Linked DNA regions of Homo sapiens: regions 2, 3, 4, 5 and 6 are each linked to region 1. The links are contacts of gene promoters, found by promoter capture Hi-C in blood cells and fetal thymus (Javierre and others, 2016). All regions are on one chromosome and are shown on one strand. Each heading gives the region's core, a stretch centred on a gene start or on the middle of the fragment in contact. The rest is flanking DNA. Distances are from core to core; before and after follow the strand shown.

Region 1 (3,486 bases), core at 359-2,858:
AAGGGATTGAGCCCCTATTAAAGGCTAGTGAGTGCGCCAGTCACTTTAGCACTGCTTTCTAATGTCATCCAAACAAAACTCTAAAAGGAATGTGTTGTTATTCACCATCAAAGAAGAAACTCAGATCTGGAGACATGGTGTGACTCCAGGAGCCTATCTTCTTTTCGATCAACTCCATTGCCCTACAGAGGGGAAGAGGGATAAATGCAATAGACATTGACTGAAGATTTTACTGCATATGGTCAAGAACTGCACTAAACATTTACATGGATTGCACACTGAAACTTCAGTTTAAATGCTAATTTCACTATTAATAGTGTGGTTATCTGGCCTGAGGCCAGAAATCAGACTCCCTGAATTTGGATCTCAGTTCTGTCACTTACTATGTATCCTTTTGCCTCAGTTTCCTCATCTGTAAAATGGGTTTTGCTGTGAAAATTATTTGGTAATATACTTGAAATATAAATAACAAGGCATGTCTAGAGCATAAGTGTGGAGAAAAATGTTAGCTCACAGTTGTTTTTTGTTTGTTTGTTTGTTTTTTGTTTTGAGACAAAGTTTGCTCTGTCACCCAGTCTGGAGTGCAGTGGCACAATCTCGGCTCACTGCAACCTCCATCTCCTGGATTCAAGCCATTCTCTTGCCGCAGCCTTCCCAGTAGCTGGGATTACATGTGCGCACCACCACGCCCAGCTAATTTTTGTATTTTTAGTAGAGATGAGGTTTCACCATGTTGGCAAGGCTGGTCTCGAACTCCTGACTTCGTGATCCACCCGCTTTGGCCTTCCAAAGTGCTGGGATTACAGGCCTGAGCCACTGCGCCAGGCTGCTCATAGTTTAATCTCCATTGTACAGCCATGACAAGAGAGAATTAGGAAGACAAAGCTAGCGACTCTTACATTCTGTTCCGGACTCCGGGATCTTCCACACACCCTTGTTTTTAGCCACCACTGCACCATCCTGCTGGGAAACCTTTTGGGGACCTGTAGGAAGGAAACCTTTGGGGGAAGCTGTAGGTGGGGTTGTGGTGTGTTTGCTTGTTTTCTTATTTGTTTTTAACATGATATTGACTCGCACATATTTCTCACCTCGAGAGAAGATGATGCGGGAGAGAGGGGCGTTATGATGGGTATGCTCTCAGAAAGACAGGAAGCTATGATGACGGGCTGCAGGTGCAGGGGCCCGCAGTGTCCGTCAGAAGAGGCTCGGGAAAGTAAGCGAGAATGGTGTTCACGTTGTGACTTTGTTTGGAATCATAAGACCGAAAAGCCAGGAAGAAGTTCTGTTTTCCTCTGCCCTCTTGCTAGCCACCACACAGCCACTGTTCTTGGAGAATTAAAAAAAAAAACAAACAAAAACAAAACAAAACAAAACAAAAAAACCGTCCCTCCTACCATTTCTTTAGTCCTGAATCTCCTTTTCCCTTCCTCTCCCCAGCCATCCCCACCCCTACTTCCTCTTCTCTCCCTCCCGCTGCCAGTTCTCTGGTTACTCCCCCCCTCCCTTGCTTCTATCCCAGCCTGGTGCAAGCTAAGAGGGCGAGGACGAGGGAGTGGGAGAGATTGGCTGAGGACTCTACAGATCAGCTAGAGAGCGAAAGAACTAAGTCTCTCTCTCTCATACACACACACACACGCACACACGCGCGCGCGCGCGCGCACACACACACACACGTACACTAAAAAACTCGGACCAGCCGCGCCGCAGCTGCTCCAATCCCTGGAAAAGGCAATCGAGCGCCCTCCGGACCGCTGCGCACAGCCCCGGCTCCGACCTGGCGCCCAAAACAGAGCTAGTCCTAGTCCCTCGCGCGGCCAGTTTGGCCGGGTGTTCCCAAAAATAAAGCGAGGAGGGAAGGTACAGACAGATCTTGAAAACACCCGGGCCACACACGCCGCGACCTACAGCTCTTTCTCAGCGTTGGAGTGGAGACGGCGCCCGCAGCGCCCTGCGCGGGTGAGGTCCGCGCAGCTGCTGGGGAAGAGCCCACCTGTCAGGCTGCGCTGGGTCAGCGCAGCAAGTGGGGCTGGCCGCTATCTCGCTGCACCCGGCCGCGTCCCGGGCTCCGTGCGCCCTCGCCCCAGCTGGTTTGGAGTTCAACCCTCGGCTCCGCCGCCGGCTCCTTGCGCCTTCGGAGTGTCCCGCAGCGACGCCGGGAGCCGACGCGCCGCGCGGGTACCTAGCCATGGCTGGGGCGAGCAGGCTGCTCTTTCTGTGGCTGGGCTGCTTCTGCGTGAGCCTGGCGCAGGGAGAGAGACCGAAGCCACCTTTCCCGGAGCTCCGCAAAGCTGTGCCAGGTGACCGCACGGCAGGTGGTGGCCCGGACTCCGAGCTGCAGCCGCAAGACAAGGTCTCTGAACACATGCTGCGGCTCTATGACAGGTACAGCACGGTCCAGGCGGCCCGGACACCGGGCTCCCTGGAGGGAGGCTCGCAGCCCTGGCGCCCTCGGCTCCTGCGCGAAGGCAACACGGTTCGCAGCTTTCGGGCGGCAGCAGCAGGTGAGTGCGCGAGGTGAGACTCCCTTCCCGCGGTCCCGCCCCAGCTTTCTCCCGGGACCCCCCACAGCTTCCTTGTCTGCCCCTTGCTTGGTGGCGCTGCCTAGGGACCTTTCTCCGCCCTCCTCAGCTGCCCTCTGGATTCCTCCGTCCAGTCACACCCCGCGTGTCGCCAGCTGCATCTCCTGTAAGCCCAGTTTTCAAATCCAAAGTGAGAGGGGGAAATAGAATGAAGGCGCGGAGCAGTGGAGGGGTAGGCTGGAGGAGCTTCGTGGAAAAAGGGAAGGGGCGACACCCCATGCCTGTGAGGCCTCCTGCCCTGAGTGACTGGAGCACCTCTAGGGTACCTTATTCTGTTGATTCCTAAATCGGCCAGCGGAAATTCCTTTGGACTGGGCTTTAGCCATGTTTACTAAGAGGCAGATGCCATTTTATGCCAATGCCAGGACCCGAGAGAAATCATACTTGAATAAGACGCCTTCCCCTCTCCTTTTCTCCTTCCCCAGTCGCTTCTCCAGATATTGCACCCGCTCCTAATTCGCGCCCTTTGTGTTACTGTACTATATTTGACACTTTACTTGATAGTTCCTTAGTGGCAAAAAAAAAAAAAAAAAAAAAAAAAACAGGTGCTTGGGTGTTTCGATTATTAAAACGCATCTGGGTAAACAGGGGTTGTACCATCCATCCTGGGAGGAGCTGGGAGACAAGGGGAGGGAGCAACCCTGGATGTAAACACCTCTTGGAATCTGCCCAAGAAAATCTGCTCATCCCATTTTTCAGCACAGATCACTTCGGACTGAAATTCATGGCTTAACAAGGTTTCTCCTAGCCCCTGTGGTGAAGGGAATAACTTATGCTAACAGCCTCCCTCCCTTGTGTTAACAGCTTGAGGGAAAGCTTCCTGGACACTAACTCTGTTTTTATGCTTTGAGGATTCACCAGGCTTTTTTGTTCACTACATTCATGATAAGGGGAAATGTAACTGCAA
Region 2 (3,640 bases), core at 873-3,372, 620 kb before region 1:
GGTCCAGCGAAGATCAGCAGAAGTGATGTAAGGAATGGGGACTAGCTCCTAAGAGAGTGCTCAGTGGGATCAGAAGTGTTTAACTTGGAGAAGGGAAGACGAAGGGATGATTTAACTGTCTTCAAGTATTTGAAAGGTTATTATAGGGAAGATGCAGAACAGATGTTCTTTACTTCCACAGGAGACCAAATAAAAGGAAATACTTTTAAATTGTAGCAAGAGAAAAAGTTCAGTTGGTCATAAAGATGGACATAAGTATAAGGAAGGGATTAAACACTGAAACAGGTAACCAAGGAATACGGGGAAGTTTAATCCTTAGAGATTTTCAAAGGTAGGAATAGATAGCCATTGCCTTGGATGATTTGCGTGTCCTCCCACCTCAGTGCAGGGAAATACCCTATATCTCCTTCTGAAACTCTTCCAACTCTGAGATTCTATGCATGTGTTTTTCACCCTGGTGGGAGTTGCCTAGAAGATAGTCAATTGGGACCATGTATCCAAGGATAGAAGCTAGAATTCAGCAGAAGCAGAGATCAAAGGGTATTTCCATGGGTATCTCTGATCTCCTCCTAACTAAACAGGTATTGGTGACTAGATCCGGGAAGAGAAAATGTTTCTTACCCGTCCATGTATAGAACTGTATTGCATGTGGCCTTTTTCTCTAAACTTTCTGAATCAGCAATGATCATTCAAGAAATTATAACAGCTAATGTTATATTGAAGATGAAGCATTGCATTAATTATCTCACTTATCACTGGGTGGTGGTGTGTTTCTCCTTTCACAGATAACGAAATAGACTAAGAGAAATTTAATCATTAGCTTAAGGTCTTTCAACAGGTGAGTGCAGAATTCAAACCTTGGCCTGCTTGTCTGTTTTTTTTTCTATTCTAGGAAGAAGTTGTACATATTTAGAAACATCCTTCCTTAATACTGGCAGCTTTTGTTAATAAGAATTAGGTTGGCTCCAAAAAGTAATCATCTGCATTAGGAGAACATAAAGAAATGTGTGTTAAATGAATGAGGACCAAGACTTAGGTTTTGGGTAAAATTCGGTAATGTATTATACGTGTCATAATTAAGTTGCTCTTCTCCACTAAAGCAGCATTGTATGTAACCAGAGATATTTATTTCCTTTGGCTATTTGACCCATTATTGGGATAATTGAATGCTGGCCTCTTGAATAATAAAAGGTTTACATTTCAAATAAGCCATGGAGTTTGAGCATCTAGATTTTCAAAAGCCATGAGTGACATAGGATATTGAAAACTTCCACAGTGAACTTAAATTTTAGAGGAAATTTGAAGAAACAGCAATCCATATGTATAAACTGGCACTTAATTCATTAATTCTTAGTTGTCCTCAATCATCCTCAATCATTACTTCATTTAGTTTTATCACTGCCTAAGGTTTGCTTAGAGTTAACTTATTCTGAGTCTTTGTATTTCAAGTAAAATATATAGTACTGGGAAAAATCTAGAAGGATGAAAGGAATGTAAACAATCTAATTTTTTTATCAAAAGATTAGACATTTACATGCTATAGTATTTATTGTCTTTAGAAAAATTGTACCTTATTTATTTATTTAATAAACAACCTTTGCTATATATTACAATATAATATATAGCAACCCGAAGCTATATATTATGCACTATTGATTTGTTAGTAAAAATGTGAATTCTTTCACCATTTTTTTGTTATTGTTTTGTTGTTATGATATTTTCTGATCCTTGGAAGTTTATGAGACAAATAGGTGTCAAGAGCCCTTGAATGTTATTTTCTAGGATAAGATTTCTCTTTGCCATATTCTCTTTTGCATTCAATAATTTAGACTTATTTTACTTCATAATAAAGAGGATGAGAGAACAGATATGTATTAATATAACAGTAATAATAAATAGCATTTATTGAACATTCACTCTCAGTGCCCACAGAGAGCATCATCTACGGTGTATTCTGTGCAGTGGCTTGCCTTCTCTAAGTACTACTCTGAAAGCTTTGCATGTGTTGTTTCTTCAAATCCTCAAGTCATCCAATGAACTAGGGGCTTGCATTAGGTCCCTTTTATGGAATAAGAAAGTGACTCACAGAGAGGTTAAGTACCTTACATAGGTCCCTCAGCTAGTAAATAGAGGAGTTAGGATTCATAACCAAGCAATCTAGTGACCATGCTTTTAGTCCTGTACTGTGCTTCCCTTCTGTTGGAGACCACTTGCCTATCCAAACTTTCACGGTCATCATTTTAACTATCCCAAGCTTCTGCACTTCATTTCTGATCAATAGTCTGAATCCACATATAGTCCTTTTTTTTTTTTGCTTATTAAACACTAAACATAAAAGCATTATAATTCAAATATACATGTGCATATTATAAGCTACTCCTAAATGAATGTGTTTTCATGACACGTTCTGGGATAAAAAGATAAGCAAGAAAAAGCCCCTTTAATTAAGAAGCTTATAGTTCAGAGAGGAATAACGCATGAACTCAACTAAATATATTGCTCAAAGTGGAATGTGCAGACATAACATATTCCAGTAGCACAGAGGAGCAAGTGATTCATTCTTATTTGGTGAGTATGGTGCTGTGGACCTTGCCTCAGAGAGAGAAAGCTGAAGGATTTGTATTAAGTAAGATAACTGGGAGACATGGGCATAGACAATGTGTAGTATAGAAAATGAGGACATTTTTCCAGCATCTTTGCTCACTGAGGATGCTGAAGAAATGCAGCAACATGTAGATATGTGTCTCAATTATTGTTGGATTGTTAATATCAAGAAATGATGCCTTGACACACACACACATACCTATTCATTCATCTGTCTATTCATTTTTTCACCAAATCCCTGGTTAAAGTAATCTCAGTTCATAGGGATGGCAATTATCTTCCTTAATGGGTATGCATCCTTCAGCCTCAAGAAGATTTAGAATGTAGTATAAAAGTGTTTAAGACTCAGAATTTTAGCATTGATATTTGTGTGTTATGGAAGACTCTGCTCAGGTTTAGAATTTATTATATATGCATAAAATAAGTAACAGATTTCAGTCTTTTTGAATGGTAGCCTCATAACATTAAGTTAAAATGTACGATTGAGAAATTGTTCTCAACTTGTGTGAGAAGAGAGTGGACCTTGTTTGTATCCCAAAGCCACCTGTGCGATAACATGAAAAGTATGGGTGAAAGCTTAACTGGAGTGGGTTTAACAGAGAATGGAAAGAGTGAAATTGCACAGCAAGTACAGATCAAAGTGTAGAGCCAGACGTTGCTGTCATTCCTTGAGCATTGACTATGGTGCTGGCTGTGGCTTTGAAGCCTTACCCTTAGGTGATTGTGAAAGCAGCAGGCATCCCAGAGAGGGATAAGAGTGAGAGAAGATAACAAGACTGTATGTGAGCTCACCTGTGACACCTTTCAGGGTGGGACCCAGGAGCTGGAGATGTTTATAGCTAGGTAGACAGAAACTAACACCTGCAAATTTAGCTTATTACCTTTAATGAAGCCCTATTGGTACCTACAGACTTTTGAGCTTAGACTTACTCTACTTGAGTAAAAACAAAAAGGAAAGAAAATCTGGGACAGTGAAGGGAACAAGAAACTGGAGGAACTATAGAGAGTGGATGTATTAGCAATTCCAGATGGAATA
Region 3 (3,448 bases), core at 816-3,315, 570 kb before region 1:
GATAAGAATTTTGGCAGTCACCAGTTTATAATATTCAATGACTCACATGTTAATAAATTATGCTCTTCCCATTCATTATCTAGTGTTGATTGAGCACCTACTGTATATCTGTCATTAAGCACCAAGGAATACAGTAGTGATCAAAACATACAAAAAATCCATGTATCCACAGAGCTTATGTTTTAGTTGGGGAAGGTAGACAATAAAGAAATAAAAAAAAAGATATGCTATGATAGATGGTCATAAATTCTTTGAAGAAAAATAAAGCAGGAAAAGGAGATAAGGTGATGCTAGGGTGGGGTTGTAGTTTTAAAGAGGATGATCAAGAAAGGCCTTATTTAGAAGATGACATTTGAGCAAAAAGCTTAATGAACTAAGGTAGCAAGCCATGAGATAGTTAGGAAAAGCCAAACCCCATGCTTGGACACAGCAAGGAGGTGAGTGTGGCTGGAGTGGGATGATTTAAAGAAAATGAGGCCAGAGAAATAAAGGGAGTGGAGCAGCTTCATGGCAAGACATAATGTACCTTTCACTTTTGAGATATGAAGACATTAGAGGGCTTTGCTCAGAGGAGTGTCCAGATATCTGATATAAAGGGATCTCCCTCTGGCTATAATAAGAATAGTTTGTAGTGAGAACAAGAAGGCAAGCAGGGAGAGCAGCGAGAGGCTTTGTAATAAGCCAAGCAAGGGGAAGTTCTGCTTGGACTAGGATGATAACAGTGGTGGAAGTGCTGAGGGATGTCTGGGTTCTGGGTATATTTTGAAGATAGAACAGGAAGAATTTTCTGATGGTTTGAATATGAGATATGAGGAAGAAGATGACTCAAGGATGACTTTGGTTTTACCTGAGTACATAGAGAATGAAATAGACCATAAGAGAAGGATACATGGAGGATTGGAATCTGGAGTTTGTATTTTAGATGTAGCAAGTTTGAGATACCATGAAGAAATCCAAGTAAAGATGTAGAGGGCAGTTGGATAACCATGTTGGAGTTCAGTGGAGAGGTCTGGGTTGGAGACATTAATCTGTGACTCATGCATGTAATCATGTAAATGAATAAAATAGAAAAGAGTTCCAAGGAATGAGTCCTGCAACACTCCAATGCATAGAAGTTTGACAGATGAGGAAGAGCTAACTGGCAGAGCTAGAGATGGTTTAGCCAGGAAGACAAAGGCTACGGTGTTGTGGATACCAACAGAGGAAAGTATTTTGAGGAAGAGGAGATCAGTCATTCCAAATGCTTTTTTTTTTTTTTAACGCAGATGTTTTTGTCTGCAAATAGGTAGTGGTAATATTTATATTATTAAAGAGACCATGAGAACATGTAAAAATGGAAGACTTTTACAGCACAAGTAGTTTGCATTATGCCAAAATGTAGCCACTTCAAATACAACTTTGAAGTAGGGTATAAATAAACTATTCCATTAACCACTAAATTGAAGGACAAGAATTACAACAATTGATGATCCGCAGGCAGCGTTTTCCACAACAAAAAAATCATATGGGAAGTTGAATAAGTATCTTTGTTATTAGCCTACGTCCTAATAACATCAACTTGAAATTATTATTGAGCCATGTTGGAAAGTTATTTTTGGTAATTTCCTTAAGTGGGGAAGAGAGTCAAATAGGTTATCATGTTATGTTATGGAGGGTGAGGCCATGTGCCACAGATTCTGTGCTTTGGATGTGTCACAGGAGCAGCCCTCAGCTTCCATGGCCCATGTGAATGGAGGCAAGAAATGCCATTCATCTGTGACTTTTAGAAGACACCGGAACAAATTTATGTGTAAAAGATCTATTTGATACTTTCATCTCTCTCATTCTTCCCATTGATTCCTAATCTATTGCTATAAAATCCAAGGTTGGTAGTCAGAGTTTCTCTCCTGAGCCAACACTATTTTGCCTGTTTCTTCTTGACCTTGGAGCATTTTAAGATGTTTTTCGGGACTTCTATAACCACATGCTACTGTAGCATTCATTTTTCATGGGATGCTCCATGCAGTTCGTTTGCTGTAACTGAAACTAGCTGTCCCCCAACCCCCTCTGCCAAGGATATAATTTTTCTAGGAGCCATCTACAATAGAGACTACTTATTTATCCATGTTTTGCCGGGCTTGTAGCTCACTGTTGATTTTCTGAAACGTTACTTCTGCATTTTCCAGTAAAAATCTGCCTTCTACTTTGAGACTTAACTCCCGACGTCCATTTCTATCCTGTGGCATATTAATCCATCTCTTGTTTTTGTCAAGAACTTTGGCACCTGGATCTTAGTTTTACTTGTCACTCTCAGTGCTGTCATCCTTCACCATTTTTTTGATTCTCACAGCTCTGAATGCTCAGTTTTTAGCCCGTTTATACTCCAGAAAAAAAAGAAAGAGAGACTCAGGGAAAAATGGAAAAACAATAGCTCTTCATGGAAAGGAAAAGGATCAATAACAAATGGGCGCCCCCAAAATTCAAGAGTCACATGAATATACATTTAAAACAAATAATTCAAACTAATTTTTACAAATGTTTCTTTTTCTTCCTGAGTTAAAGGAGTTATATCTTGAAGAATCTAGTTCCGTGTCTGGGAATGGAACCCAGGCTGCGGCGCATGCCAAATGCCAGCTACTGGACTACAGGCTGGAGTGCCTTTTTGCAAATCCCACAGGGGATCCAAGGCAGGCAATATGAGTGTACAAAGGTTTTTAACTTTTAAAAAAATCTTATTTCTGAAAAAATCTTTTTTCTGCCTTTTTAAAAAAATCTCACCAAGGGAGCTTCTAAGGCTGTATTCTTTGTGTATTTTTTATATTTATAAGATGGTTGTTTAAGACAAGAGCTCTCTAAAACATTTTCTTTTAAATATAGCCAATTTATTTATTTTATTAGTGATTCAAGCCAAATAAGACTTCTGCATGGAAAGTCCCAAAAGTAACTTTCCAGGTTTAGAATACTATGGATGTGACATTTTAAAAATGGGCACAGAAGATGCAGCCTTCCCCTCCAGGATCTCCCCAAAAATTCAATCCCAGAAATAGGCTAAAATAGCAAGGTTTCGAATGCCCCAGACCATTAAGGATGCAGTTTGTTTGTTCAGGGTCTTCAGTATCCCAATAACAGATCTGTTCATCTATGGCACTGAGTAGGCCCTCCTGGGATTGAACTTTCCCAGGACTAAAACCAGGCAGCAAGCCTGGTTGAGACAATTAAAGCTCTTTGCGGATGGGACTTCTTTTTTTTTAATTTTTAATTTTTTAATGAATATCTTTTAGAGAAAGGGTCTTGCTCTATCATTCCGGCTGGAGTGCAGTGGTGCACTCACAGCTCACTGCAACCTCAAACTCTTGGGCTTAATAGATCCTCCCACCTCAGCCTCCCTAACAGTTAGGACTACAGGTGCATTATCACCGTGCCCTGGCTAATTAAAACAATTTTAGTTTTTTGTAGAGATAGGGTCTCC
Region 4 (3,361 bases), core at 47-2,546, 510 kb before region 1:
TATAAAGGAATACCTTAGGCTAGGTAATTTATAAAGAAAATATGTTTAATTTGCTTATGGTTCTGTGGGCTATACAAGGATGGCTCAAGCATCTGCTTCTGGTGACAGCCTCAGGAAGTTTACAATCATGATGGAAGGTGAAGGGATGGCAGGTGATGTCACATGATGAGAGAGGGAGTAAGAGGGAAATTGGGGAGGTTTCAGACTCTTTCAAACAACATATCTCAGGTGGACTAACTGAATGAGAACTCACTTATCACCAAGAAGATGGTGCTAAACCATTCATGAGGAATCTGACCCCATGATCCAATCACCTTCCACCAGGCCCCACTTGCAGCATTAGGGATCACATTTCAACATGAGATTTGGAGAGGAAAAACATCCAAACCATGTCATAGGGAGATAGGAAATTTCGTTATATCTGACCCTCAAGAAAGTAGTTGCCATCTTAAAGCTTGTGAGGAGCCCTGGCTGCAAGATTTAAAGGCCAATTGGGAATGAAGTATAATTATTTCCTTAAGTGTAGGCTACTTATTTAAGAAGCACACCTCTCAGTGCATACTCAGCTTATTATCACTGTAACCCTTTAGAAATCATATCCCCTAGGGCAGCGATCTTTTTATTTTTTATTCACAGCTCTATCTTCAGTGCCTAGTTCAGGGCTTTGGTATAATAAACGCTTAGTAAATATGTATTGAATGAATGAGTGGATTAAGCTAAGGACAGATGAGCTTCCATTGGATTTAGCAGCAAGAAGTTCATTAATGACCTTGGTGGGATCTCATTTTTCAGTGAAATGTCTAGTTTCACAGTTTGTTGAGGAGTAAATAGGAGATGTCTAAATATAAGCCAATGTTCAGCAGCACTTTCTAAATTGTGGGGTAGGAAGGAAAGAAATAGGAAATTGTTTAGAATGAATGGACACTGGTTTGAGTAAGAATTTCTGTTGTTTTAGATCAGAAAGAACTGAGCATGTTGAAATGCTGGTCAGAAGCCTCCTAAAGAAAGAAATAGAGGTAGGTCCATGAGAAGTTCATAAGTATATTCCAAACCATGGGAAGAGAAATTACCCTTACCTGGGACACTAAACCCTTTCCTGTTGTAACTGGAGAGAAGACTGAAGGCATGCAGGTAGATGCAGCTAAGTTTGTAGATCAAGCTGTGGAAAACTGAGGGAATTCTATTGGCTTAATTTTTGTTGTGTAATGTTAAGGTTATTGTTTTATCTTGAGAAACGATGTAGCCAGAGATTTGAGATAATTATACACATTTTGAAGTGGCTGCTGTGAGGAATGGAAAGAGATTTCACTAGTGGGACCTAGAAGTATTCCTAGACAGCCATGAGTGAGCTGGTGATGTTGCAAGCCACAGATCTATAGTTAGGCACTGATACACACTACTTATTTCTCTACCAAGGTTCAGTGGCCAAGGTATAGAAGGCAAGCATTCAGTTTAAATCAGTGAGGGTGTAGGAGAGAGACAAGAGAGTTGAGGACATGGTGAGACAGTGATTGATGAACTGCACTATGAATACAAAAGGACATAAAGTGGAGACACAGGTAGGCTCTTTGATAGGAAGAAAGTAGAAGCATTAAGAAACTGGGTGCCTTGCTGAGATCTAAGAATAGATCTAAAATCTGAGTGATAAAGCCAGAATAATGGGAAGCTGTGTTTCTTTGAGTTTAAGAGTTTTAGAGTGGACCAGTTTTAGGTGATGACAAGGTTGGGGGTATGGACATGTGAGTTGGTTGGTAAAGAGGAGTAGAGAAGTAAGGTTCACTGAGGATGAGAAGGCAGAGATTAATCTGAGAGATTAAGATTATTCATATGGACTTTGAAGACATACAAGATAATATTAGCAATTGGTGTACAGGAAATGATGCTGAGAGCAAAAGCCTTCAATTAATGTGGTGAAATGATCAAGAGACTCGTAGATAAACAACAAAGAGGGATAGAGTGGATAGCCAGAGCACTACATAAGCCATTAAAGATCAAGGGTTCCCAAATAATTCTATAGGCAAAAAGATCTGGGGGCATCATTAAGGATTTAGGACAATAACAGTCACTTGTCCTGACTCTAACATAAACAGAATATGAGAAAGTGAGTGGATTACACTTGCGAGTTCCGTACAGGAGAACCAAGCTTGAATTAGGGCAAGAACATAAAGAAAATATACAGTAAAGGTGCTCAGAATGCAGGTCAGATTACTTTTCATGAAAAATGGATTTTTTTTTTAGCACATCGTTTTAAGAGGGCAGAAAGCTCTAAAATGCTTGAGATGCAAGGAATTACAGAAGAGTATGGAAATACATATTTAAGGGAGAAAAAATGACTGAACAAGCTTCTATGTTGGGTGGTGAGCAGGGAAAGATAACAGGATCATGTCATGTGCTGGCTTTGCTTGGCCATCAGGTATCCCTGCCTGGCGAATGGGAGTATGGGGCCCTCAAGTTGCTTAGAATTAGCAATTATGGCTTGCCTGGGTTGGCATTTGAGCTAGCACTTGAAGAAGTAAGTAGAACTTTGCTTAGAGAGGACATATGGGTGGGTATAACAGGCAGAAGGAAGTACAAACACTGAAGACATACAAATACAAAAGTACTGGCAAGTGAAGTGAATGCTGGAAAGTTAAGTGTGAATAGAGCAACAAGATATGTGGGCTGGAGTACTAGATCATAAGGCTTGACTGTAGAAGAGTCAAAAATTTCATTAACATTGGTGATTAAATAATAATTAATTTTTTCTGCTTCATCTTTGCAATTCTACCTCTACTGCCTAGCATAGTTACTAGTACATAGAAAGCACTCTGTTAATATGTGTTTGTGTGTGTACTCTGTTAATATGTGTGTGTGTGTGTGTGTATGTGTGTGTGTGTGTGCATGTGTTTTGAGATGGAGTCTCGCTCTGTCACCCAGGCTGGAGTGCAGTGGCACGATCTTGGCTCACTGCGATCTCTGCCTCCTGGGTTCAAGTGATCCTCCCACCTCAGCCTCCCATGTATCTGGGATTACAAGCATGTGCCACCACAGGTGGCTAATTTTTATGTTATTAGTATAGACGGAGTTTCACCATGTTGTCCAGGTTGTTCTCTAACTCCTGATCTCAAGTGATCCACCTGCCTCAGCCTCCCAAAGTGCTGGGATTAGAGGCATGAGCTACCATGCCTGGCCTCAGTTAATATTTGTTGAACAAATACAATTGCAGTGAATTAAAGCTTTGAAGAATAATTAATGTGTTTGAATTAAAACTCAAAAATATAACAACAGACTAGGATGAAATTAAACAATGAGATACAGTTTAATATAGGGATCATTATAAAATCGTAGATCCATGTTCAATAAGTCAGCCACCTAAGTGCAG
Region 5 (3,551 bases), core at 87-2,586, 550 kb before region 1:
GTCATCTAAGTGAAGATGGTAGTCCACTGTTGATATCTGAGTTTGAAACTCAATATAAAGTCAGGGTTAGAGTTGTACGTTCAGAAATAGATAAGTGTCGCAAACAAATATTTGGTGTTTAAAACTATGAAACTAATTAAGAACCCCTAAGGAGAGAGGCTGAATTAGAGAGTGAAGAACAGAGTCCTAGAATATTCCTAAATTTAGAGATCAGTTGAAGAGGATGATCTAGGAAAGGGACTGAGAAAAAGATTCAATGAGGCTGAGTGAAAGCCAGGAGAATGTGACGACCCAGACGCCAGTAAACAACAATGTTGCTCAACTCTTAGTAGTTTCCAGTGAGGCCAAGTAGTCTATCCTTTTAATAAGTTGTGTAAAACACGATTCACATGGTGCTGTAATAATGCTGTCTCTCCTGCAACTCTACAGCATCATTGGTAAGAGTGAAAAAGGAGTTCTTGAATTCTCCAAACTCAAGGAAAGATCTCCCTCACCCCTTACTCTATTCTCTTTACCCTCCTTAGCACTCACAGCTTCACCATCACTCCCTGCCTTGACAGTGTTGGGAGGGAAACTTGTTCTCTTCTAACTTGGGTCCAGTATTTGGGGCCTACAAATTAACTGACTCTAGACAGATTAATAGGAGAAAAGACAAGGTTAATTTGTGTGTGCACAGGGTACACACGGGAATACTTAGTGATGAGTAACTCACTGGATGGCTAGAGATTATATGCCAAATTCAGTAGTGGCTGCAGTGGGGAGAGGCTTCAGTGGGAAGGTATGGAAGGTTCATTTGGACTTTTTGATACTAATAGAAATAGGCAGTCCATCTCCATGGCAGCAGAATTCCCAGGAAGCTTCCTGGGAGGAGTTAATGGCACTGCATTTTCTGGAGGGCTATTTTGGGAAGGTTCAGATAAGATTTCTTTCTGCATCTTCTTTGGCTCAGATGTTTACACTTTATAATTTTTATACCAACTCTGGGGGTCTAAATGGGTCCCCATGATTAATCTCATTGTGTTCTTCATCATTATTTGTGTCAGTTATACAGAAACTCAGCATTTCCAGCGTTTTTTATCCCCTGGAATTTCATTCCATTTGTGCATCTCCTTTTCTGACTGGATCTCCAATCCAATTTCTGGATCCCCTCCACTGTGCTCTCTGGAGCTCTTTTCTGGTCACCCCTTCACTGTCAGATGGCTCTTCCTTAAGGATACTGTCTCCCCAGTATGATGGTGGATTTTACACTTTCATATCCCTGGAGCCTGCTTTTCTCAGGCATTTTGTGTGTGTGTGCGTGTGTGTGCGCATGCGTGTGTGTGTGTGTGTGTGTGTGTCTTCCCCAACTTTCCTCCCAGCTTTGAAAATCATGTCTTTAGACTGTATCTTCTATGTCTTCTACCATCTCTGCTTCTTTTTTTTGAGACAGGGTCTCATTCTGTTGCCTAGCAAGTTAGAGTGTGGAGGTGCAATCATAGCTCACTGCAGCCTTGCAGCCTCAACCTCCCAAGCTCAAGCGATTCTCCCACCTCAGTCCCCAAGTAGTTGGGACTACAGGCACATGCCACTGTGCCCAGCTAATTTTTGTATTTTTTGTAGAGACAGGGTTTCTGTATGTTGCCTACACTGGTCTTGAACTCCTGAGCTCAAGCAATTTGCCTACCTCAGCCTCCCTAGTGTTGGGATTACAGGCATGAGCCACCACATCCAACCCCACCTCTGCTTCTTGATGTTATCTGTAGGCTTCTTTGCTTTCTGTCACTCTCTTTATCCCTATGCCTGTCGCAACTCTTGGTCATTCAGTATTCATGGAGATAAGCTTTCCATTTTGGCCACTCAGGCTTTGGCCCTCCTTTCCTTCATTGAGCTTGTTCACCGCCATGCACATCCATCTTATCCCACGATCACACCTTAGATCTTGATTTACTAATATCTGTAATCCTTCCACAATCTCAACTTCAAGCATTCTACTTTGTCACCACTAATACTAAACTTTCCATAATTCTCCCCTTAGTTCTCTAGATTTATTTGTTGACTCCACGACACCTAGCACCTACTGTTCCTACCACCTTTTAAAACTCTCTCATAGTCTCTATTCTCCCATTTGTCTCCCCTACTTAGTTTAGATTCTATGGTCCATCATTATAATTGTTCCCTGGCAGACATTATCAACTTACTTGCTCCTACATTTTGCTTTATTATTGTTGCCTGGAAAACCCCAGCTCTTTTCTCCCTCCACACCTGTGCTTACAGAGCTGCAAATGGCTAGAGAAAAACCTGCAAATGGAACTGGTCTCACTTTGACTTCATGATCACTAACCAGTATGGACCTTAGTGATTCTGCAATCCTATTTCATTTCCCTGGAGCAGTTATTTACTCTCCCGCTGTCCTAAACTCAAACATTATTGCTCATTTACTCCCCCAGAAAATTTTCAAAAACTATCTCCTTCCTCATATATTATTTAAGTTTACATATAATATTTTTGCCATAACTTAAATTGTGATAAAGGATGTCGTACCTGGTGTATTGTATGCCAACTTTTAAAACGTATCCAGTGGAGGCTAAAATACCACAGATGATGTCCACTATTTTCCATTTAGAAACACAGAAAAGCTCCTCTGTAATTGCTGAAGCTGTTCATCATGCATGTTTCTTCTTGACTCTATTTCCATTCCACTTACCCCACAGACTTTTATTTTATAATTTTTTTGTTTGATAGCCTTTTATCATACTTATATATAACAAAAGGCATATAAATTGAAATTTAAAAATTCTTTTTTGTTTTGTGAGCACAGGCCTCTAGCAGTTAAAGCAGTTAATGAATTATCATTATAATTATTTTTAATTAGCAATTTCTCAAATAAATGATGCACATTTTGAAAAACAATATTAAGCCTAAATTAAAGAAAAAATTACAGAAAATTCAAAATCAAAAAGGGCCTGACATAATTTTTCAGTTCTAATAAATATGTATACCCAGTGAAACCATTTTGCTTCTGCACATAAATGGTAGTTGGGTATGAGTTGATTCTATTTCCTTACATGTTTCTAACAGGAAAGTTTGACTCTTTGTCTTAATAAAAAATAAGATCTAAAATACTTTGCTGTGAAAGACATTGTTATAGTGGAGTGCTCTGTTTTTTTTTTTTTAAAGTCGTATTTGGTGTGGGGAGGGAGGTGGTGTTCATATGATGGGTTCGCATACATTTTAAATAATTTTATCTTAACAAAGGAATGTGAAGCAATCTCAGACAAGTCTAAATGTTTAAAGGAACTCCTGACACATGGGGTATACTACATTGATTAGACTGATAAGGCTAGTGTTGAGTATCACAATTCAAGATGATTATAGTTATTTTTTAAAAGATTAATTCCGTAAGAATTATCAAATAGGTATAAATTGTAATTTATATAAAAATTATAGTAGGGCTTTGGTCTATTTATTCTAGCAAAGTGAAACCTAAGAAATGATATAACAATTTTACACTGCCAAGCACAGTATCTTAGTGAATATTTACTGCATTGCAGTTGGATTATATAAAAGTTGAA
Region 6 (3,556 bases), core at 287-2,786, 600 kb before region 1:
CAGGATGTTTTATCTGTTTTGTTCAGTAACTGGAATGGTATCTGGCATTCCGGACTCAATGCAATGTGGGCCTCTAGTAGAAGAGGAACCAAATATTTGCAAGGCTTTTCTTCCTCATTCCCTCTCTCTGTTCTTTTCCTTCCTTCTTTCCTTCCTTTTTTCCCTCCATCTCTCCCCCCTTCCTTCCCTTCTTCCTCCCTCTCTTCCTTTCTTCCTTCCTCCCTCCTTTTTTCCCTTCCTCCCTTCCTTTCTTTGCCTCCCTTTTTGCCTCCCTCACTCCTTCCCTTCTTTCCGTTTCCTCCTCCTCCTCCTCCTGTTTCTTCTCTTCTCCCTCGTCCTTCTCTTCTTTCCCTTCCCCTTCTCCTTCTTCTCCTTTTATTTTTCTTAAGAAACTTGGAGAAGCCACTGAGTTAAGGCCAATTTTCTATATCTAGCCCTCTGTTTGGATTGGCAGCCGCTTGGTTATAGGGAAAAGCTGTGTCTAGTCTTCCTGAGGCATTGTCAAACTAGGACATCACAGAGAAGCCTCTTCACCTTCGGGGTCACTGCTCATTAACCCTATTGTTCAAACTCTGCAGCTGGCAGCTCAGTAGCCATTGAATGCCATTGATATGTGGCTATAAAAATTATTCTGTTTTGGGAGTGGCTTGTTCTAATAGTGAGTGTTGGGGCTGCAGCATGCCAACATGGTCCTGGATGGCTTTCCTCTACTTCCTGTGATACTGTGCTACTTTCACAGAAGAGTTTGTTGTTCTCTATGCCAATTCATTGTCAGCTCTATAAGGATAGGGACATTTTCTGAATAACAAGGCCCACTTGGTTCACAAAAATAACACAGTAAGTATTTTTTGAATAAGTTAATGTAATAATCTCACTTATAGATAGGAAAATCTAAAAGAAAATCAAAATGGAAACTATTTTATGATTGCAAAATATTAGGAGTCAACACTTAGTTATTTCATTTTTTGTTTTTTTTGAAATGGAGTCTTGCTGTGTCGCCCAGGCTGGAGTGCAATGGTGCCATCTCAGCTCACTGCAACCTCCCCCTCCAGGGTTCAAGTGATTCTCCTGCCTCAGCCTCCTGAGTAGCTGGGATTACAGGCACGCGCCACCATGGCTGGCTAATTTTTGTATTTTTTAGTAGAGACGGGGTTTCACCATGTTGATCAGGCTGGTCTCGAACTCCTGATCTTGTGATCCACCTGTCTTGGCCTCCCAAAGTGCTAGGATTACAGGCGTGAGCAACCATGCCCGGCCCTTTCATTTGTTTTATTTATGCTATTTCTAAAAGACAGTCTTTTTAGCACAAGTTTTTCAGTTCACATGCAATTTACACTCTATTTTTTTTTTTTTTTTTGAGACGGAGTCTCACTCTGTCGCCCAGGCTGGAGTGCAGTGACTCAACCTCAGCTCACTGCAAGCTCCGCCTCCCAGGTTAACACCATTCCCCTGCCTCAGCCTCCAGAGTAGCTGGGACTACAGGCGCCCACCACCACGCCTGGCTAATTTTTTGTATTTTTAGTAGAGATGGGGTTTCTGTGTTAGCCAGGATGGTCTCGATCTTCTAATCCACCCACCTCGGCCTCCCAAAGTGCTGGGATTACAGGTGTGAGCCACCGTGCCCGGCCTACACTCTATTTTTTATATACTTTCTGTGCAAGGTAATAAAAATCTAGAGTTGGAGGGAGGGGAATAAGTATTCTTAGCTTCCCATCTTTCCCAGAATATTTTCATCAATGTTTATTTTTAATTAAAAATACCTCTCACCTTCTTTACTCATCTTATATTCCTGATAGAGCACTGATTGACTTTGTTCATTCTCAGAGAACAAAGATTTACTCTCATCAAGAAGACTTTAAAAGATACCTGTTCTTGATGTGGCATGGCAGATATTGAAAAGTTATTTTTCTGAACTCATTGTCCTTAATTTATCCTGTTCATCTGTTAGTTCCTACCTATGAAAAACCACAGAGGAAAAAAAAAGATTCATAAAAGGCTGAAGTTACATTATTTATCCCAAGGTGTTATATTCTGGAAACCATGGAGGTACCCTGTACTTGAGTAATTAAAACAAGCATTTTATGTGTATAGATGATACATTTCTCTTAATTCATAAACCACCTTCTAAATATCTCAATATGTACAGCTGTGTATTCCTGAACATGATCTGTGGTGATAGCTTAATTCTGCTCCTAAGAATGAAAAAATAAGAAAGAGAAACATTTGTGGGAAAATAGAAAGAATACTTTACCTTAAAAAAACGAACACTTCGAGTTCTGCTTTTCTCAGTTTCTCAAAACTATAATTGAATATTTTATTCTTCAAATAAAAGCACAGATGGCTTTAATGATTGTAAATAAATAGTTCACTTGGTTGTCACTGATTTAAATTACTTAAAAAATCAAATTTTAAGCAAATAATTATAGGTCACATGTAATTTTTTTTGCTAAAATCTTAAGTATGGAGTATTTGGCTACCAACTTTGTACAATGTAACATTTTATAAATAAGTAGTAATTAATTTATTTGCTCTCAGAGTAACTTTTTCTTTCAAGCACGTTAAAAAGAGGATACCCAATTAAAAATTATTTGAAGTTATAATATTACATTAAGACAACAGTTTAATTTGGAAAAGTTTATTTTCTCTACACTCACTGGGAATTTTGTAACCAGTATCATCAGGTAAAAATGCTGTCAACCTCTTCTGTTTGAGATCATGTGTCATACTTAAAAAGTCTCTTCAATGTGTAACACATTTATAGTGTCATAGCAAGTGCTCAATACAACTTTTTAATTGGTCAGTTCATTCTTTATTTCATTCAACAACTATTTACCAAATGCCTGTTATGTATCAGGCATTAATACAAAAGATAAGCTGTAAATTTACATTTATTTATATTAAAATTTGTATTTTAGATGTTAAAAATATTCTATAAACATCATTAGAGCAGCAGGTGTTGTTAAAATAATGCTCTAGTCAACTTAATTCTTATTGTTGTTACAAATATTGGTTCACAATACCCCAACATATTAGATTAAAATAAGCAAGTCTCTTTCTTAAAATTGTAGAAAAAATACTTTTTGCTGTCTGATATCCATTCTTCCCTTCTCCCTTAATGAAAGGACTCTTGTTTTGTAGCAGGACCTGTTGCTATGGAGTAAGGACTACATTTCCCAAGCTCCTTTGGAGGTGATTTGTGCAGCTTCCAGACATATCTTCAAAAAGAGGAAATGTTACATCTTTGCTGCCCTTTCCTCATCCTGCTGCTTTAAAAAGTGTATTTTAAATACTTTTAACAGTGGTGTTTAAAAGTGCTGATGAGTCATATTCCACCATGTAGATAAGAGCAATACCTTAGAGATGACAAAGTTATGTGATATATAAAAAGCCTGCATCGCCTGTAAGAGCCCTGGACTACCATTTTCAGAATATAATGAACAAGCACTAAACCTCTGTTTTCTTTATGAACTGTGATTGAGTCTCTGCCAAACCTACATCCTAAGACAGAATTTGATGCCACAATTTGGGTGCATAAAGAGGTATAACCTAGATATGT

Evidence for each region. Contacts are between HindIII fragments. The CHiCAGO score rates a contact against its expected background, and 5 or more counts as called.
Region 2: a fragment that was not itself captured here is called in contact with the fragment with the promoter of BMP3 in region 1 in 3 of 17 cell types (naive B cells, naive CD8 T cells and erythroblasts); the score reaches 5.2 in naive B cells.
Region 3: a fragment that was not itself captured here is called in contact with the fragment with the promoter of BMP3 in region 1 in 2 of 17 cell types (naive CD4 T cells and naive B cells); the score reaches 6.1 in naive CD4 T cells.
Region 4: a fragment that was not itself captured here is called in contact with the fragment with the promoter of BMP3 in region 1 in 1 of 17 cell types (naive B cells); the score reaches 5.6 in naive B cells.
Region 5: a fragment that was not itself captured here is called in contact with the fragment with the promoter of BMP3 in region 1 in 1 of 17 cell types (total B cells); the score reaches 5.4 in total B cells.
Region 6: a contact is called between a fragment that was not itself captured here and the fragment with the promoter of BMP3 in region 1, in 1 of 17 cell types (naive CD4 T cells). The highest score is 5.4, in naive CD4 T cells.

What each region holds. Positions count from the first base shown.
Region 1 is chr4:81,029,100-81,032,585 of GRCh38, forward strand. BMP3 (bone morphogenetic protein 3) reads left to right here and starts at 1,609. Exons shown (of 3, transcript NM_001201.5): 1 at 1,609-2,501. The coding sequence starts at 2,186. The HindIII fragment of the contact is 6,285 bases long and covers 1-3,393 here.
Region 2 is chr4:80,409,973-80,413,612 of GRCh38, forward strand. All of the region lies in intron 2 of CFAP299 (cilia and flagella associated protein 299), which reads left to right. Among named protein-coding and RNA genes, the nearest start is that of CFAP299, 76 kb to the left of the region's middle. The HindIII fragment of the contact is 260 bases long and covers 1,993-2,252 here.
Region 3 is chr4:80,455,740-80,459,187 of GRCh38, forward strand. All of the region lies in intron 2 of CFAP299 (cilia and flagella associated protein 299), which reads left to right. Among named protein-coding and RNA genes, the nearest start is that of CFAP299, 120 kb to the left of the region's middle. The HindIII fragment of the contact is 3,407 bases long and covers 363-3,448 here.
Region 4 is chr4:80,516,336-80,519,696 of GRCh38, forward strand. The region is part of intron 2 of CFAP299 (cilia and flagella associated protein 299); the gene reads left to right. Among named protein-coding and RNA genes, the nearest start is that of CFAP299, 180 kb to the left of the region's middle. The HindIII fragment of the contact is 1,689 bases long and covers 453-2,141 here.
Region 5 is chr4:80,475,648-80,479,198 of GRCh38, forward strand. All of the region lies in intron 2 of CFAP299 (cilia and flagella associated protein 299), which reads left to right. Among named protein-coding and RNA genes, the nearest start is that of CFAP299, 140 kb to the left of the region's middle. The HindIII fragment of the contact is 962 bases long and covers 856-1,817 here.
Region 6 is chr4:80,431,194-80,434,749 of GRCh38, forward strand. The region is part of intron 2 of CFAP299 (cilia and flagella associated protein 299); the gene reads left to right. Among named protein-coding and RNA genes, the nearest start is that of CFAP299, 97 kb to the left of the region's middle. The HindIII fragment of the contact is 5,418 bases long and covers 1-3,556 here.